2 separate regions of the Homo sapiens genome follow, and region 2 is linked to region 1. The links are contacts of gene promoters, found by promoter capture Hi-C in human tissues and cell types (Jung and others, 2019). All regions are on one chromosome and are shown on one strand. Each heading gives the region's core, a stretch centred on a gene start or on the middle of the fragment in contact. The rest is flanking DNA. Distances are from core to core; before and after follow the strand shown.

Region 1 (5,093 bases), core at 491-2,990:
AAAGACAGGACTGTGGGTCTGATGAAGTCATATGTGGAAGGGTAGTTCTTTCTGATAAGCTACTTCCCAGAACACAAAAGTGTGGAGGATTTTAGAAAACAAAAGGTTTGGGGGTGCGTGGGTGAGATTTCTTAACTGTGGCTGTTTTCTAAGAGCACACAGCTCAGGTTAATTACAACATTGTCAATCAGTAAAATGCTGAAAATATTATTCATCTCATAGATGTGGTGTGAGAATTAAAAACTTTTTTTTTTTTGAGACAGAGTCTCACTCTGTTGCCCAGGCTGGAGTACAGTGGCGTGATCTCGGCTCACTGAAACCTCCATCTTCCGGGTTCAAGGATTCTCCTGCCTCAGCTTCCCGAGTGGCTGGGACTACAGGCACATGCCAATACGCCCAGCTAATTTTTGTATTTTTAGTAGAGACAGGTTTCACCATGTTGGCCAGGCTGGTCTGAAACTTGTGACCTTAGGTGATCCATCTGCCTTGGCCTCCCAAGTGCTGGGATTACAGGTGTGAGCCACCGTGCCGGGCCTGGTGTGAGAACTAAAGAAAACAATCTATATGATTCACTTAGCACAATGCTGGGCACACATATAGGCTGCACGTTTTGCAAACAAAAATACAGAACAATATAACATCCTACATGCACAATAAAATGAAGCAGTTTTTGGGATTTACTTACACTAAAACATTATCTAAAATTTACATTTAACTGTGTGTTCTATATTTTGTCTGGCATCTCCCGGCATACAGTTGTGTTGACGATAAATATTATGGCCATGGATTGAAGATTTATTTTCAATCCATATTACCTGGACAGAAGATAGGGCTCTCTTCTACTAAATACAGCTTTTTTTCTTTTGGAAGACAATCCACTGGCAGGGTTGGGGACTGGGGAAGTGGTGGCCACAGCCCATCTTAGGGCTTCTTCAAAGGCGAGCTGACCTACCTTCTCCGTGCCCCATTCCCTGTCTCTGGCCCTGGTAGCCTCCTCCTTCTTGGAAGCATGGAGGTGGAAACACTGAGGTGGCAACGAGAGACTCCCACGGAATCTCAACGCCTGGAGGGGAGGGATTTTCTATCCATGGCCATCTCTTCACCCTCCAGCACAAAGTTGGGTGACTAGCAAGTGCTCATTCAGTGCTGATGAACTTCAGTTCAAAAGCATCAGGTGCAAAGAGAGGGAAGACGTGTGCTCCTGATTTATTTTTAATAGCCCACATTTGACATGGAAAACAAAAAGTTTCTCTGAAATCCTTGGAAACCGCTGCAGTGGGGCGGGACCCTGGTCCCCGGAGCTTTAATGCACATCTTGGGCGTCACTTTTGGTTCTAAGGTGGCCCCAGGTCCCTCCTTTAAGATGGGAATAACCATGCCTGACTCTTTCCCCACGGACACCACACTGTCCTAGTTTGTGTTCTCTACGCGACCACGAGCTCCTTGAGACAAGGGGTTGAGCCTGCTCCGGCTCATCCCGAGAGCCGGCGCAGCGACTGGCGCAACGAAAGGGAAATGAACGAATGAATGAACGAACGAAAGTGGAGTGGTGGAGAGGACCACAGAAGACGCGGTCATCCAGCGCGTGAACCTTCACCACTGCTGGGCTGTGGACCCTCACTTCCGCCGCCAGGAAGTTTCGGGGTCGCCCACCTTCCCTCCCAGGCTGCTCCGCGTCGGCGGCGCCCCGCGCGATTGGCTGCGCCGCCCCCACGTGACGCCGGGGTGGCGGCGGCGGTTGCCCGGGTGACGGCTGCGGAGGTGGCGGCCGGGCTGGGATAGCGCGAGTGTCCGCGGCCGAGCAGCAGGTAAGCGCGTCCCCGGATGCAGCCGGGCCACCCTCCGCCCGCCGTCCTGGTGCTGGGAGGAGCAGCGGTGCGTTTGGAGGGCCGAGGCTCTGCGGACCTCTTGTTCCGAGGAAAAACCCGACGCGCCCGCTCCGCCGCCGCCGGATGCTACCACTTCTCGCCTGCGGTCCAGGGATCTTTCTTCGGCAAGGGCCGAGGCGGCCGCCTGGACATCCCAAGAAAGGACAGGCCCAGCTGCTTCCCGCAAGTAGTCCCTGATCTTTGCTGCAGTGGGCCATACTTGGAGGGGGTCCCTCAAGCCATCCAGCTGGTGGTGGCGGCGCGAGCGGGTTATCCGGGATTTAGATCCCCCTGATAATCTCCATCTGCTAGCCGCGTTCCTGAGGCACCCAGTTGAAGTCCAGACTTCACCTAATCTTAGGAAAAACAGGATGCGTGCTATGCAGATTCGGCTTCCATACAAATCCCATAATCCCACCCGTTTGTGGGCCCTAAATCTTTCTTATATAGGAATTCAAAAGCTGCCGCTGCAATCCCCAAATGTAACTGGAAAAGTTTTTCTTAGTTTCCGCATAAAGGAGAGCACTGGTTCTCAAACTTGAGAGTGTGTAAAAGTCACTCAGGGAGCTTGTTTAAAAGGCAGATTTCTGGGCATGGTGCCTGCCACGGTGTTCAGTAAGACCAGGGTGGAGGCAGGAATTTTCATTTGCACAAGCGTGCCAGCTGATTCTGATTTAGGTGGTCCAGACTTTGGGAAATACTGTGTAGTGGTTCTTTTCAGCCGCTTAGTCACTTACTGTGGCTGTTGGGAGTGTGTCAGACTTCCTGGGCCTCAAATTGCCTCATCTGGAATGGGAAAATATAAACTATATTCACCTGTCAGGTTTACTATGAAGGTTAAATGTAAAACATTTTGCACATTGCCTGGCATACCATATACCTTCAATAAATGATACCTATTATGATATAAAAGTTTAGAGAAAATTCTGTAATTTCTTTTTCTTTTCCTTTTTTTGAGACGGAGTCTTTCCCTGTCGCTCAGGCTGGAGTGGAGTGGCATGATCTCGGCTCACTGCAACCTCCACCTCCTGGGTTCAAGCGATTCTCTTGCCTCAGCCTCCCTGGTAGCTGGGATTACAGGTGCAGACGCCACCACGCCCGGCTAATTTTTGTATTTTTAGTAGAGATGGGGTTCCACCATGTTGATCAGGCTGGTCTCGAACTCCTGACCTCAGGTGATCCGCCTGCCTCAGCCTCCCAAAGTGTTGGGATTACAGGTGTGAGCCACTGTGCCTGGCCAATTCTGTAATTTCTAAGAATGTTGAGTAATAGGATACCCAGCAGCACTCACATTCAATGACAGTTGATCACAGCAGATACTATTTAAACGGCTTAGGGAGGTCTACTCTAAGGAGGTGATGTTTATTAGGCACAGTGGTTAACCAGGTGAAGAGAGGGAAGAGTGTTCTAGGCGGAGAGAGTAATATGCGCAAAGGCCTTGAGGTTGGCCTCAAGGTTTCAAATTCTCAGAAACTCACTTTTCCCGTTCCAGGGCCTTTAAAATGACATCCCCTCAGCTCCGGCTTCATTTATTCATTATATGCCTTGAGTACCTTTCTTGCTTACTAGACACTCTGTTAGGTTCTGGGGATATGAAGTTGAAATACAGCTCCCTGTCTTTGTGAACAGGGTTATAAGAAGTGCCAGGTGCAGTGGCTCATGCCTGTAATCCCTGCACTTTGGGTGGGTGAATCGCTTGAGGTCAGGAGTTCAAGACCAGCCTGGCCAACCTGGTGAAACCCTGTCTCTACTAAAAATACAAAAATTAGCTGGGCGTTGGTGGCGGACGCCTGTAATCCCATATACTTGGGAGGCTGAGGCAGGAGAATCACTTGAACCTGGGAGGCAGAGGTTGCAGTGAGCCAGATTGCACCTTTGCACTCCAGCCTGGGCGGCAAAAGTGAAACTCCATCTCAAAACAACAAAATTAGCTGGGCGTCATGGCGCATGCCTATAACCCCAGCTACTTGGGAGGCTGAGGTGGGAGAATCACTTGAACCCAGGAGGTGGAGGTTGCAGTGAGCCGAGATCCCGCCACTGCACTCCAGCCTGGGCAACAGAGCTAAACTCCATCTCAGAAAAAGAAAAAAAAAAAAAAGCCTTGGTAGGGAAAGAAGGGAGGGGTTTTTCATGGAAGACTTCTTGAAAAGAGATTAAATCTGGCTTGGCTTAGAATCATGAGTCATGTTTGCCTGGGGGGGCAGAGCATACATCAACCACAGGCTTAGGATCCTGGAAGAGCTTGTTGCATGGGGGAATGGCCAGGAGTTCGCTGTTGGCAGGGTCCAGTGTGGGATTGGTGGAAGGGAGCAAGGAGAGGGATCAGGTAGGGGGAGGTGGATGGATTGGAGGCATGGTCCAGAAAAAGGCTGGAGAGGTGGGTGTCCCCCAGGAGCAGCTGCCTTTCTTCTCTCCCCTTTTGCATCTGGCAGGGCTGGTGTGGTGCATGGGGAGGTGTCCTCCCTGCTCCTCATTACTGCTTCCAGATCACTACCCACTCCTTCACAAACCCCAGCTCCTTTGAAGCACATGGCAGATGCCATACCCCTTGCCAGCCCTCCCTGAGGTAGCCACTTCCCAGGGCAAGTCTCTCCAGTTCCCTTGGAGCCTCCAGCACCCGGCTGGCTGCCTATCCCTTCATCTCTTTTACTTCACTTTTGGGGGTTTCCACATCCTGGCCCCTCCAGTTTCTTCATCCTCCTTACTTGCAGGCGTCTCTTTCCTCCATCCTCCTCATCTGCCCACTCCCGTGGTCGGGAGCTTTTTAGTACTAGTCACCTTCAAAGTCTTGCCTTCAGGCATCTGTCCCACTCTCTGCCCACTCCTTTCCATCTTTCACACTCACTGGAATGTGCCTCCTTCAGCAGGTCTCAGACCCCACTGCTTCCTCACTGCTCTGCAGCCGCCTTATGTGTGTTCCCCTCCCCCATTCTTAACCTGATTAGTTCCAGTGTCCCATCGTGGTTGTACTGTTTTCCCTTTCCTCTCTCTTCTAGAAGAACCTCTCACATTGGTTAACCTAACTCAGATAGCTGAAAGTGCCTGGAGAAGAGCTGCAAAACTGTGCAGACTGATTCCATTTTAGATTCAAGTGCAGAGATCTTAAATGGACTATAATACCAGCAACCCTGCCATGTTGCTGTAGTCGCTTTGGTTCCCACCCTCCCTTCCGTTCCCACTCTCCCTTCTCTTCGAACTGTCACCATGCTTCTTACTTGCAGCCGA
Region 2 (5,165 bases), core at 1,437-3,936, 140 kb before region 1:
AAACCAAACCAGAGAATATAAAAATCCATCTCCCTTTTTGGTAAAAGCCGTTCAAATACATTGACTGAGGATAGGTAGCAGTTTTAGTATTAAGTGTTCTGTTATTTAAGATCTGTTCTACATTTAAAGCATTCTGGCCTGTCATCTTACTCCACATCACTAGTTTGCAATTTTTTCTTTTTCACTGATTGAATTTTGAAATTTATCTGTTCCCTGTGCTGTCCATTCAGAATCTCTGTTCTGGACTTGTCATACCAACCTAGAGTACCAAGAGGTTCTTTATATCTGCTTTTATGCTACTTTAGTTTTGCTTGGTAAATTTTGTATCTTTTCCTGTGTGGCTTCCTAAAGATTGCTTAAGCTATTTGGCAAACCTATACTTGTCAATTAGAAATGGCTACATCTAACTAAGTTGCCTTGACACTTTTTAATCAAACCACAGTTTCAACTCGGTGTTCTGGAATGATTTTAAAACCCACATGGAAAGCATTTGAGAGTGGTTTCCTTTGTGGTCTTAGTACAATAATTTCCCATATCATTTTTCCAATAATCCCTTTGACCTTTGACTATATTTCAAGGTGTGTTCTTTTGGAGAGGACAATTATTCCTTTTACTCTCCTATGTTAGTGGTAATACCTTGAGGCTAAGAGAAGCCATATGGAGAACACTGTGCTTGGGTAATTGAATTCAGAATGAGTATGATTGTTCATCATTTGGTAAAACCCAGGTTACTTGTGATAGGAAAGAGGTGCCATAATATACACACCTTGAAATAATTGAAGTATTTTACCTTGTTGATTTGATGACTAAATGCTCCCATTTTTGTAAATAATCTTATAACTGTTGATTTATTTTGTATGAATAATTTTATTCTAAAATTGTATAGGAAAGTTTCCCATTTTAATCAGTAAATTAGGCCAATGGTTCTCAAACTATAGAGAGCAAAAGAATCACAGTACTGGGCCCCATCCTCATAATTTGTGATTCAGTAGGTCTGGAATGGGGCCGAGAATGTGTATTTCTAACAGGTTCCCAGGCAATGCTGTTAGTCCAGGGAACACACTGAAAACCATTGAATTAGGCAAATGATGTAATATATGTGGTGCCATGAGGGTTTGATAATATAGTTAAGTCTTAAACTTGAGATATAAACCTTTACACTTTCAAAGAAAAATAATCATTCCCCTGGAGAAGTTACGCCTCAAAAAAATTGTTTTTCAGCCATCATGTATTTTTGACCAGGTGTTAATTTCCACTTTAGTGAGAATGTGTTTCATAATCATGTTACATCTTTTTTCTCATAGCTGGAATTATTTCTCTTCTGGATGAAGATGAACCACAGCTTAAGGTATGAATTGAAGAATAAGTAACTAGGCTTAGTGTGAATACTGTGAAGCCTTTTGAATTTAGTGATATCTGTAATCTTCCATCATTTAAAGTTGCTGTCCTAGCTGGCTTGTACCCAGTTACTGTAACCTAGCCAGAGAGGACAGTATTTTGGCCACAGCAGTTGGTTTCCCTTGAGTTTAACAAAGCTAAGACAAATAAACCTCGTTACGACACTTGAATAGCCCCCTAATTTCTTTCTTTTTTTTCTTTTTTTAATCTTTTTTCTTTTTTGAGACAGAGTCTCGCTTTATCACCCAGGCTAGAGTGCAGTGTGTGGTCATGGTTCACTGCAGCCTTGACCTCCTACACTCAAATGATCCTCCCACCTCAGCCTCCCAAGTAGCTAGGACTGTAGGCATGCACCACCACACTCAGCTAATTTTTAAATTTTTTGTTGTGATGGGGTCTCACTGTGTTGTCCAGGTTGATCTCAAACTCCTGCTCCTGGGCTCAAGTGATCCCCCCGCCTTGACCTCCCAAAGTACTGGGATTACGGGTCTGAGCCACCACACCTTCCGCTTCCCCCGCCCCAGTTTCATTATCAACAGAAAACACAAAAAGTTGTTGCTTCTGTTTCACATATTTAAAGTTTTTTATTTGATGAAAATTTGGAATGTCCTTCTGGTGGCTCTAGATACTTGATTCCTTTACATCTAAACCAGCAACCTGGAGTTAATTGTTTATATTCAAAGAAGAAAAATGTTGATGATTGAAAACAGAAAAGAAATGTGTAAACTCAAGAAAAAGTGTAAGTTGGTAAATTTTTATATTTGTCATAGAGTAAAAGTTTGAGTAAATATTACTGAGGATTTGATCATTGATTTGCTGAAAAGAATTTTTTAAGGAAGTGTAATGATAAGTCTATCTCAAAATAGGATTTTGGTTATCTTTTACAGGAATTTGCACTACACAAATTGAATGCAGTTGTTAATGACTTCTGGGCAGAAATTTCCGAGTCCGTAGACAAAATGTAAGAAATTATTTTTATAAATCAGAATAAGATGGATCAAATTTAATTGTGAATGTGGGTCTTGTGGCTTATTGATTCATTTAGAAATTTGCTGTTAACTGAATTGTGGCTTGAATATTTAGATTTGGGATTTTTAGGGAAAACCACAGTTTGAACTAGACCTGTACTTCCTAATTTCTTTCAGAGAGGTTTTATACGAAGATGAAGGTTTCCGGAGTCGGCAGTTTGCAGCCTTAGTGGCATCTAAAGTATTTTATCACCTGGGGGCTTTTGAGGAGTCTCTGAATTATGCTCTTGGAGCAGGGGACCTCTTCAATGTCAATGATAACTCTGAATATGTGGAAACTATTATAGGTAATTATCGTCTATCTGGTAAGGCTTTATCTTGTCGGCTTCTTTCTTGCTGTAGTGCACATAGAAGCTTTTTTCCTGAATTTGATGTTGCCAAATTTCATTTTAATTGGAAGTTCCTAATCTTTCTATAATAATTTTATGCAGGCTGAGTTTTTAGATCTGCCCTTCAACTGAGTGCTGGTTCTCAGTGGTTATGATGATCACCAGTCCAGTGAGCCTACTGTTAGAGGAAAAGATTAAATCAGATTAGTATGAGTAACAAGTGGTACCAGTTTGTGTAGTTTTTTCGAATACAGGAAACCATTATTTAGTATCTGCATTGTGCTAGGCACCGTGCTAGTCACTCTGCATACCATGGTTTATTCCACAGCTACCCCATGAGGAAGGAGCTAGCCGTTTTACAGATGAGACAACTTGGATTTTGAGATGATAAAGACATGGTTATTAAATAGAAGGATAAAATTTAAAACCTGGTTTTACTCACTCTAAAACCCATACTGTTTCTATTTGTAACCGTTGTTTTCTTACTTGTTTCCTTATTTTTGAAGGAAGGGGATAACACACAGGCAAGGCTTTGAATTTTCTGACACATATTTCAACCAGAGTTGTAAATTCAACTAGTTATGTAAGATTTGATACAAAGATTTTATAGTGTAAAAAAATGCTTGAAAACTGTTGATGTAGTAAATGAAAGAAGGGACTGCATACCCTTCAGACATGTGTTTATCAGACTTTGGATTCATAGTACAGAGAGCTCAAGGGCATGTTCTGTCAGGAGTGTGCAGTGCAGATATTTCACATTGCTGATTAGTAGAAGGTCTGTATTATTCACTTGAACACTTACAAGGAGGAAGTTGGTATTCTCTTTTAGAAATTGGGAAGTCCTGCACAAGGGGGTTGATAGAGGTACCATCAACTGTCCTTGGGATTCTGTGTTCATGTTTTTAAAGTTTTTGCTATGATGATGTGAAAATTTTGCAAGTTACTTTATTGCTGTTGGAGGCTCATTGAATTGAGCTGTCATCTGTGAATCCAGTGGGAAGAACTGATGGCTTAAAAGGATGGACCGTATTATTTGAAACTAGACTACTTTCTTCACTTTAAGCTAGAAGCAGGGGGTGAAATACCTTACTTATCTCTTTTATTTGATGGATTTTTTTTTTTTTGAAAACAGGGCAGGATCTCACTGTGTTGACCAGGGTGGTCTCAAACTCCTGGCCTCAAGCAGTTCTCCTGCTTTGGCCTCCCAAAGTGTTGGAATTAACAGGCGTGAGCCACCACAGCCAGCCTTTTTTTTTTCTTTAATGAAGGTTTATGGTTTTTTACAACAGTGATCTACAAATGCTTAAAATGCCACCATTGTACAAATTGTGCTTTTAAACTGGACTGTTGGTATGAAGTGCTATGGCATGGTAGATGCCTTCTAAACACTGTATCATTTTACCTTTGGAAGGTGAGTTTTGATCAGTAGACCAGTTCTGTTTGCATTTATTTATTTAAAAGTGGGGTTCACCCTTCCTCTAGTTTTGTAGGGCACATTTTTTAAGATGTCAGTGAGATTCATGAGGGGGTATACAAAACAGAATTTGGGTAAGGCTTCCTAGCGTCTTAATGAATATCGTAAACAGTACCTCCAGAAAATCCAGGACTCATAAATCTCCAAGTTATGACAAGGCTTTAGCAGGAAATGAGGCTGAGTTTTAGTTATAACATAAACCTGGGATATATTTATGACATATATGCAAACCTGGTGAATGAGAACATGAATCTCATTTGAAACCTGGGACATACATTTTTCCCCTTCAGTTATATAATCTAAGGAAAATTCCCCAAATGTTCTAATTTTGAGGTTCCTCTCTGATGGGGTAGGGGTAATGTTTCCTCACTTAGCTACAGTTGGTTCAAAAAGCTCACATTAGGGCCTGGTGGACATTTTCAACAACTGGAATTCTTTAAGGTCTATTTTGCATTATAACATCCACTGTGTTTTTTTGTTTGTCTGTTTGTTTTTTGGCAGTTTTTCTCTGTTGCCCGGGCTGGAGTGCAATGGCACGATCTTGGCTCGCTGCAACCTCCACCTCCCTGGTTCAAGTGATTCTCGTGCCTCAGCCTCCCAAGTAGCTGGGATGACAGGTGCACACTACCACACCTGGCTAATTTTTGTGTTGTAGAAATGGGGTTTTGCCATGTTGGCCAGGCTGGTCTTAAACTCCTGGCCTCAAGTGATCCACTTGCCTCGGCTTCCCAAGATTTTGGGATTACAGATGTGAGCCACTGACCCAACCCACTATGTTCTTATTAACTGTACCTGAACCTTCATGGTTCCAGCTGAATCTTGAATGTAGTATATTCCAATTTATAAAAGTCCTCTGCTTCCTTCAAGATATAGACCCATTTAACCCGGGTCATCTAGTAGGCCAACAATCATTTATGCTAGTTAAAATTATTTTTA

Evidence for each region. The method cuts DNA at HindIII sites, captures the fragments that hold promoters and counts their contacts. A contact is called where the count stands out against the background at its distance.
Region 2: a fragment that was not itself captured here is called in contact with the fragment with the promoter of ARMC9 in region 1 in 1 of the 25 tissues and cell types used here (IMR-90 fibroblasts).

The regions. Positions count from the first base shown.
Region 1 is chr2:231,196,891-231,201,983 of GRCh38, forward strand. It overlaps ARMC9 (armadillo repeat containing 9), which reads left to right and starts at 1,741. Exons shown (of 25, transcript NM_001352754.2): 1 at 1,741-1,808. RefSeq lists a silencer at 1,547-1,886. The HindIII fragment of the contact is 14,859 bases long and covers 1-5,093 here.
Region 2 is chr2:231,059,963-231,065,127 of GRCh38, forward strand. It overlaps PSMD1 (proteasome 26S subunit, non-ATPase 1), which reads left to right. Exons shown (of 25, transcript NM_002807.4): 2 at 1,305-1,348; 3 at 2,286-2,359; 4 at 2,544-2,713. Among named protein-coding and RNA genes, the nearest start is that of PSMD1, 5.7 kb to the left of the region's middle. The HindIII fragment of the contact is 6,709 bases long and covers 1-5,165 here.